Regions from separate parts of the Homo sapiens genome. Here all the other regions are linked to region 3. The links are contacts of gene promoters, found by promoter capture Hi-C in blood cells and fetal thymus (Javierre and others, 2016). All regions are on one chromosome and are shown on one strand. Each heading gives the region's core, a stretch centred on a gene start or on the middle of the fragment in contact. The rest is flanking DNA. Distances are from core to core; before and after follow the strand shown.

Region 1 (2,700 bases), core at 121-2,620, 360 kb before region 3:
GTTCCTCAAAAAATTTAAAAAAGCCTTGCCAGCATCTGTTGTTTCTTGACCCTTTAATAATCACCATTCTGACTGGTGTGGGATGGTATTTCATTGTGGTTTTGATTTGCATTTCTCTAATGATCAGTGATGTTGAGATTTTTTTCATATGTTTGTTGGCCACGTAAATATCTCCTTTTGAGAAGTGTCTGTTCATGTCCTTTGACCACTTTTTTATTTTTTTCTTGTAAATTTGTTTAAGTTCCTTGTAAATTCTGGATATTAGACCTTTGTCAGATGGGTAGATTGCAAAAGTTTTCTCACATTCTTAGGTTGCCTGTTCGCTCTGATGATAGTTTCTTTTCCTGTGCAGAAGCTCTTTAGTTTAATTAGACCCCACTTGTTAATTTTTGCCTTTGTTGCAATTGCTTGGAGAAATAGGAACACTTTTACACTGTTGGCGGGAATGTAAATTAGTTCAACCATTGTGGGAGACGGTGTGGCAATTCCTCAAGGAGCTAGAACCAGAAATACCATTTGACCCAATAATCCCATTACTGGGTATATACTCAAAGGAATACAAATCATTCTGTTATAAAGATACGTGTACGTGTATGTTCAGTGCAGCACTATTCACAATAGCAAACACATAGAATCAACCCAAATGCCCATCAATGATAGACCGTATAAAGAAAATGTGGTACATATACACCATGGAATACTATGCAGCCATAAAAAGGAATGAGATCATGTCCTTTGCAGGGACATGGATGAAGCTGGAAGTCATCATCTTCAGCAAACTAACACAGGAACAGAAAATCAAACACTGCATGTTCTCAATCACGGTGGGAGCTGAACAATGAGAACACATGGACACAGGGAAGGGAACAATACATAACGGGCCTGTTGGGGGGTGGGAGGGAGAGCATCAGGATAAATAGATAATACATGTGGGGCTTAATACCTAGATGATGGGTTGATAGGTGCAGCAAACCACCATGGCACACATTTACCTATGTAACAAACCTGCACGTTCTGCACATGTATCTCAGAACTTAAAATTAAATTAAATTAAAAAAATTAAAAAAGAACTAGCTTATGATCCAGCAATCCCACTATTGGGTATATATCCAAAGAAAATGTAATCAGTATGTCAAAGAGATATCTGCATACCCATGTTTATCGCAGCACTATTCACAATAGCCAAGATATGGAATAAAACTAAGTGTCCATCAATGAGTGCATGGATTTAAAAAGTGGCATATATACCACTTGAAATATTATTCCAGTACCACTTTGGAATATTATTTAGCCATAAAAAAGGAAATCATGTTATTTGTCACAGCATGGATGAACCTGGAGGACATTATGTTAGGTGAAATAAGCCAGGCACAGAAAGACAAATACTGCATGATCTCATGCGTGTGAAATCCACAAGTTAATCTCATTAAAGTAGAATAGAATGGTGGCTACCTAGAGGGCAGGGTGGTTGGTTACAGGGGGCAGGTGGAGAGATGTTGGTTAAAGAATAGAAAATTACAGTTAAATAGGAGGAATAAGTTCTATCGTACAGTATGGTGACTATAGTTAATAACAATATGTTGTATTCTTGAAAAATAGCTAAGAGATTGGATGTTGCATTCTCACTACGAATATGATAACTATGTGTGATAATGCACTTTTGTTAATTATGTAGATTTTACCATTCCACAATGTATATATCCTTCAAAACATCATACTATACACAATAAATACATATAATTTTATCTGTCATTTTAACAAAAGAAAGATATACCAGCTCTGGCTTCAGATGAAGGAGCTTTGGGGTAGAATGATTTGAAACCTCTGCTCCCTATCAAATTCTAATGCTTTCTCAGGTCATATTGAGTTGAGATAATTGAACTGAGGGAACACTTACTTACGTGGTAATTTTTGGCTAAAAAAACAGGACACTGAAAACATGCCGACAGTATAAAAGAATGAAGTTGAACCCTTACATCTCATCATATATAAAAATTAACTAAAAATGTATCAAAGATATAAATGTAAGAGCTAAAATATAAAACTCTTAGAAGAAACATAGATGTAACTCCTTATGACTATAGTTTGGGTAGTAGTTTCTTAGATATAACACCAAAAGTACAAGCAACAAAAGGCGAAAATAGATAAATTCAACAACATCAAAATTAAAAACTAGTATGCTTCAAAAGACACCATCAGGACAGTGAAAAGACTACTCACAGATGGGAAAAAATTTTGCAAATCATATATCTGACAAGATCTTGTATCTAGAATATGTAAAATGCTCTTACAACTCAACAATAAAATGAAAAATAAGCCAATTTAAAACTGGGCTAAGGATTTGCATAGGTATTCCTCCAAATAACATATTCAAATGAACAATAAGCAAATAAAAAGAAGCTCAACATCATTAGTCCCTAGAGAAATAAAAATCTAAACTATAATGTGATACCACTTCACCTCCTCTAGGATAGTTACAATAATAATAAGGAAATCAACTAAAATGAGTGTTGGAGAGGATGTGGATAAATTGGAGACCTCATACGTTGCCAGTAAGAATGTAAAATTGTGTAGCCATTGTGGAAAATAGTGTGGCAGTTCCTCAATTGGTTAAACATAGAATTACCATATAATCCAGCAATTCCATCCCTAGAAAAATGAGAATGTATTTACACAAAATATCTTGTATATGAATGTTCA
Region 2 (2,808 bases), core at 10-2,509, 390 kb before region 3:
GTAAACAGAAAACCTATAGAATGGAAGAAAATATTTTCAAACTATGCATCTAACAAAAGGCTAATATCCAGAATCTACAAGAAACTCAAACAACTCAACAAGAAAAAAATCCCAAATAACCCCATTAAAAATGGCCAAAGGACACAACAGACATTTTTCAAAAGAAGACGTACAGCCAACAAATATATGAAATCATGCTCAACATCACTAATCATCAGAGAAATGCAAATTAAAACCCCAATGAGATATCATTGTATACCAGTCAGAATGGCTATTACTAAAAAGTCAAAAAAACAACAGATGTTGGCAAGGATTTAGAGGAAAGGGTATGCTTATACATTGTTGATGGAAATGTAAATTAATACAACCTCTACAGAAAACAGTGTGGGGATTCTCAAAGAACGAAAAATAGAACTACCATTCAATCTAGCAATCTCACTATTGAGTATCTACCCAATGGAAAAGAAATCATTAATTAAAAGGATACTTGCACTTATATGTTTATTGCAGCACTATTCACAATAGCAAAGTCATGGAATCAACCTAAGTGTGCATAAACAGATGATTAGATAAAGAAGATTTTATATTATACACACACACACACACACACACACACACACACACACACACACACACACCATGGAATACTATGCAGCCATAAGAAAGAATGAAATCATGTCTTTTGCAGTTGCATGGATGGAACTGGAGGTCATTATCCTAAGTGAAGTAGCTCAGAAACAGAAAGTTGAAAACTGCATGTTCTCACTTGTAAGTGGGAAGTAAAAATGAGTACACATGGACATACAGAGTGAAATAGTAGACACTGGAGATTCTAAAAGGTGGGATAGTAGGAGGGGGTGAGGGTTGAAAAATTACCTAAGGATATAAGAGCCACTATTCAGGTGATGAGTAAACCAAAAATCCAGACTTTATCATTATGTAATATATCCACATAACAAAAATATGGCACTTCTATCTCCTAAATCTATAAAAATTTTAAAAATGTAAAAAGCAACAGAAAATAGTTACCAAATATGGTAGATATACATTTTAAAAATCAATAACCACTTTAAATATAAATGATCTAAATGCACCAATTCAAAAAAAGATTGCCAATGTAGGTTTTTAATAAAATCCAACTACATGTTGTCTACAACAAACCCACTTTAAATATATAGACTCAGTTTTATGAGCCATATTAGCAAATTAATCTAAACTGAGGGAAAGGTCAAAGGAATCCTGATTTATAGCTAGTTGTCAGAAGTATAGGTGACAAGCTACTACTTATAACTGGCATCTGAATATACACAGTATTGCAGGGTTGAGCCCTTAACCTGTGGGATCTGACATTGTTTCCAGGCAGATGGTGTCATAATTTAATTTAATTATAGGACACCAAGTGGGTGTCCACAGGAGAATAGATTGTTGGTGTGGAGAAATCCCCATATGTAATTTGGTGACCAGAAGTGGTCTGTGCTAAGCATGAGAGTAGGAAAAACAGTTGGTTTTCCTATTATATGTAAAGTCCCAATAACCTTTTCTATAGATATGGAAATGACAATACTAAAATTCATATGGAATTGCAATGAGTCCAAGTAGCCAAATCAATTTAGAAAACAAAATAAAAAGTTGGAAGACTCACACTTTCCAATTTCAAAACTTATTATAACACTACAGTAATCCAAACAATGTGGCACTAGCATAAGGATAGACAATGGCATCTATAAATCACTGAAATGGAATTGAGAATCCAGAAATAAACCCAAACATCTATGTATAATTGATTTTCAACCAGGATGCCAAGACCATACAATGGGGAAAGAACAGTCTCTTCAACAAATGGTTCTGGGAAAACTGGATATCCACATGCAAAAGAATGAAGTTGGACCTTTACCTAACATTATGTATAAAAATTAACTCAAAATAGTTCAAAGACCTAAATATAAGAGCTAAAACTGTACCAATATTAGAAGAAAACTTGGGAATAAATCATGATGTTGAATCAGGCAATGGTTTCTTAGATATGGCACCAAAAGCACAAGTAACAAAATTTTAAAAACCATAAAATGGACTTCATCAAAATTCAAAACCTTAGTGCATCAAAAGACATTATTAAGAGGTGAAAAGACAGAATGAGAGAACATATTTGCAAATCATATATCTGATAACTAGATAAGGGTCCATATATCTGATAACTAGATAAGGATCTAGTGTTCAGAATATATGAGTAACTCCTACAACTCAATAATAATGAGAAAAGCAACCCAATTTAAAAATGAGCAAATGACTTGAATAGACATTTCTCTAAAGGAGATATGCAAATGGCCAGTAAGCACATGAAAAGAGGCTCAATATTAATCACTGGGGAAATGCAAATCAAAACAACAATTAGATATCACTTCACACCCATTAGGATGCTAATAATAACAATAATGGCAGAAAATAACAAATGTTGGTGAGAATGTAGATAAACTGAACCATCAACGAGAATTTAAAATTGTGCAATCATGGCAAAAAACATTCTGGAAGTTACTCAAAAGCTTACACATAAAGTTACTATATCATCCAGCAATTCCACTCCAAGATATTTACTCAAGAGACTCAAAAACAAATATCCAACCAAAAATATGCTCACAAATGTTCATAGAAACACTATTCACAGTAGCCCAACAGTGGTAACAACCCGAGTGTCCCTTAATAGATAAATGTATAAATGAAATGTGGTATATATACACACAATGGAATACTATTCAGCCATAAAAAGAAATAAAACAGGTCCTGTCATTTGCAACATGAAATAAGGCAGGC
Region 3 (2,700 bases), core at 5-2,504:
ATTGTTCACTTTAAATGGGTGAATTGTACAGTATGTGAATTTTCATGTTAATGAAGCTGATTTTTTTTAAAGAGTAAGGCAACGATAAAAGATTACACATAGAAGGCCGGGCGCGGTGGCTCACGCCTGTAATCCCAGCACTTTGGGAGGCCGAGGCGGGCAGATCACAAGGTCAGGAGATCGAGACCATCCTGGCTAATACAGTGTAACCTTATCTCTACTAAAAATACAAAAAATTAGCCGGGCGTGGTGGCGGGCACCTGTAGTCCCACCTACTCGGGAGGCTGAGGCAGGAGAATGGCATGAACCCGGGAGGTAGAGGTTGCAGTGGGCCGAGATCGCGCCACTGCACTCCAGCCTGGGCGACAGAGAGAGACTCTGTCTCAAAAAAAAAATAAAATAAAATTACACATAAAAAATACAAAGGATATGAAGAGACAATTCCCAGAAGAGGAAATGAAATGGTCAATACACAAGACTTGGTATTGACCTCATCAGTAGTCAGAGAAATGTAAAAATAAAGCAATGAGACATATTTTTATTTAACTAAATTCTATTGAGAAGAATTAAGAAAGAATAAAACATACATATGATGCTTGAAATAATGCAGAGCGATGGTCTTTTCACACATTGCTGGGTAGAATTTAAACTGTTAAATAGTTTTGGAAAGTAGAATGCCCATGTCCGTTAAATTTAAAATACTTATACTCTTTGAATTCATGGCCCCTTTTTTAAGACTGTAGCTCACAGAAATAAAATACTTGTGGCTACACTTTAAAATAAGTTATGACAAAAGGGAAATTAGGTGGAAATGGAAAGATATTTATGTTGCTTTATTAATTGCAAAAAGCAATTATTAATTGAAAGTAAGGCCCCAGTTTAATTTTTGTAAAAACAAACAGCAATAAATGCATATAGGAATACAAACACATATAATATTTGTGTGTTTATGTGAGCATGGAAACACTTGTAGACTAATATATAATTATGTGCCTTCCCTTTTTTGTGCAGTTTTGTATTGCTTTGCTAGTTTCAATGAAAAGGTATGACATTGGCAGTTTGAACGACAGAGAACAGTTTTAATGAACAGAGGGTGGGTGGGGTAGTTAGAAAGGGAGGGATCGCGCTAATGTTGCAGCCATTTTGTGTGCGCTCCTCTTACAGATAGTGCGGCGGCCCAGGCGTCGCGTCTACGCGGGGGATTACAGTAACCCGGTTGTCAGTGATGAGTCAGAGTGCGTGGTGCTGATGCTGCTGCCATTTCATCACCTTTGCGAGCGCAGCATCCATCCCTCCGCTCTCCCGGCGCCTGGGCCTACCCAGCTTCGGGCTCCCAGGCCAGCGATGCGCTCGCGGCTGAGCTAGATCCTGCCGAGCCGCGCTCTCTGAGGCGTCGGCGGGGCGCCCCCTCCCGCCGTCCCCGGTCCGGGCCAAGGAGACCTGCAGAGCCGCGGCCATGGAGGCCATCTGGCTGTACCAGTTCCGGCTCATTGTCATCGGGGATTCCACAGTGGGCAAGTCCTGCCTGATCCGCCGCTTCACCGAGGGTCGCTTTGCCCAGGTTTCTGACCCCACCGTGGGGGTGGATTTTTTCTCCCGCTTGGTGGAGATCGAGCCAGGAAAACGCATCAAGCTCCAGATCTGGGATACCGCGGGTCAAGAGAGGTTCAGGTGGGAGCGCAGTCCGGGCCCGCAAGCAGTGGGAGGGTCTTCGGGGTTTGCACCGCCTCTGGGGAGAGAGGACTTCCTGGTTCTAGGTGCGGTCCAGGAGGGCAACACCAAGGGTCTTGAGGATTCTGCCGAAGCCCACCTTCGGCTAACCCGGAGTTTAGTGCAAGGAAAGAAGCGCCCTGGCAGGGAAGGCCGGTCAATAACACATATTGCTTGCACCACAACTCCACCAACCTGCCCTTTGGTGGCTAACAAACTAGCTGGAATTGATCTCTGTATCTGTAATTCATCAATCTCAGTCCCTATGTTACATACTTTCAAAAACGTTCCCAGGTCATCCTAACATAACTGACAGAGATTTAAATACATAAATACATGTGTATTATGTTTTATTTCCACATCTGTGTGTGTGCACATATATATGCTAACATATGTTCTAACATGAAATAGATACGATTGATTCCTTCTTGCAACCAGCACACATTCAGTGATCATCTACTATGTGCCAGACTCTGGGCTTGTTCCTGGGAAAACAGTGTGAGGAGACTCACACAAGGGGATGCCATGTAATCTAAACAGACAAAGCCCCTTCATTCTTGGAACTTCTGTGCTAACATAGTTGAGGGAAATAGATAATCAGCAATTACGAAAGTGTGTCTTGCTCATATTTGTATGCCCACTCCCTACTGTAACACTTGGCACAAAATGAACATGCTTAATTTCAATCAATGAATTCATTGAATAATCAATGAATATGTTTACTTTCACTCAGAACCCTTTGCTTTTCTATTGTAGCATGTATTATTTGTAATTATATGTATGAACACAGAGGAGGAAAGGTTAACTGGAGAAGATGAGACCGGATGAGTATGACTGCCTAAGCAAAGACAGGAAACGCCCAGGGATAGGAAACAGCATGAATAAAGACAGAAGTGAGAGGGAGCAGAGTGTACACAGAAAACTTTGCAGAGAACAATTTGAACTAAAGTAGAGCAGCAGGAACCAGATCAAGAAAACTCAATAGCCCAA

Evidence for each region. Contacts are between HindIII fragments. The CHiCAGO score rates a contact against its expected background, and 5 or more counts as called.
Region 1: a fragment that was not itself captured here is called in contact with the fragment with the promoter of RAB39B in region 3 in 1 of 17 cell types (neutrophils); the score reaches 5.7 in neutrophils.
Region 2: a fragment that was not itself captured here is called in contact with the fragment with the promoter of RAB39B in region 3 in 1 of 17 cell types (erythroblasts); the score reaches 5.6 in erythroblasts.

What each region holds. Positions count from the first base shown.
Region 1 is chrX:155,626,011-155,628,710 of GRCh38, reverse strand. The region is part of intron 1 of SPRY3 (sprouty RTK signaling antagonist 3); the gene reads right to left. Among named protein-coding and RNA genes, the nearest start is that of TMLHE, 14 kb to the right of the region's middle. The HindIII fragment of the contact is 6,921 bases long and covers 1-2,700 here.
Region 2 is chrX:155,652,517-155,655,324 of GRCh38, reverse strand. The region is part of intron 1 of SPRY3 (sprouty RTK signaling antagonist 3); the gene reads right to left. Among named protein-coding and RNA genes, the nearest start is that of TMLHE, 41 kb to the right of the region's middle. The HindIII fragment of the contact is 2,567 bases long and covers 1-2,542 here.
Region 3 is chrX:155,263,045-155,265,744 of GRCh38, reverse strand. It overlaps RAB39B (RAB39B, member RAS oncogene family), which reads left to right and starts at 1,254. Exons shown (of 2, transcript NM_171998.4): 1 at 1,254-1,671. The coding sequence starts at 1,457. RefSeq lists silencers at 1,207-1,256, 1,267-1,476. The HindIII fragment of the contact is 10,241 bases long and covers 1-2,700 here.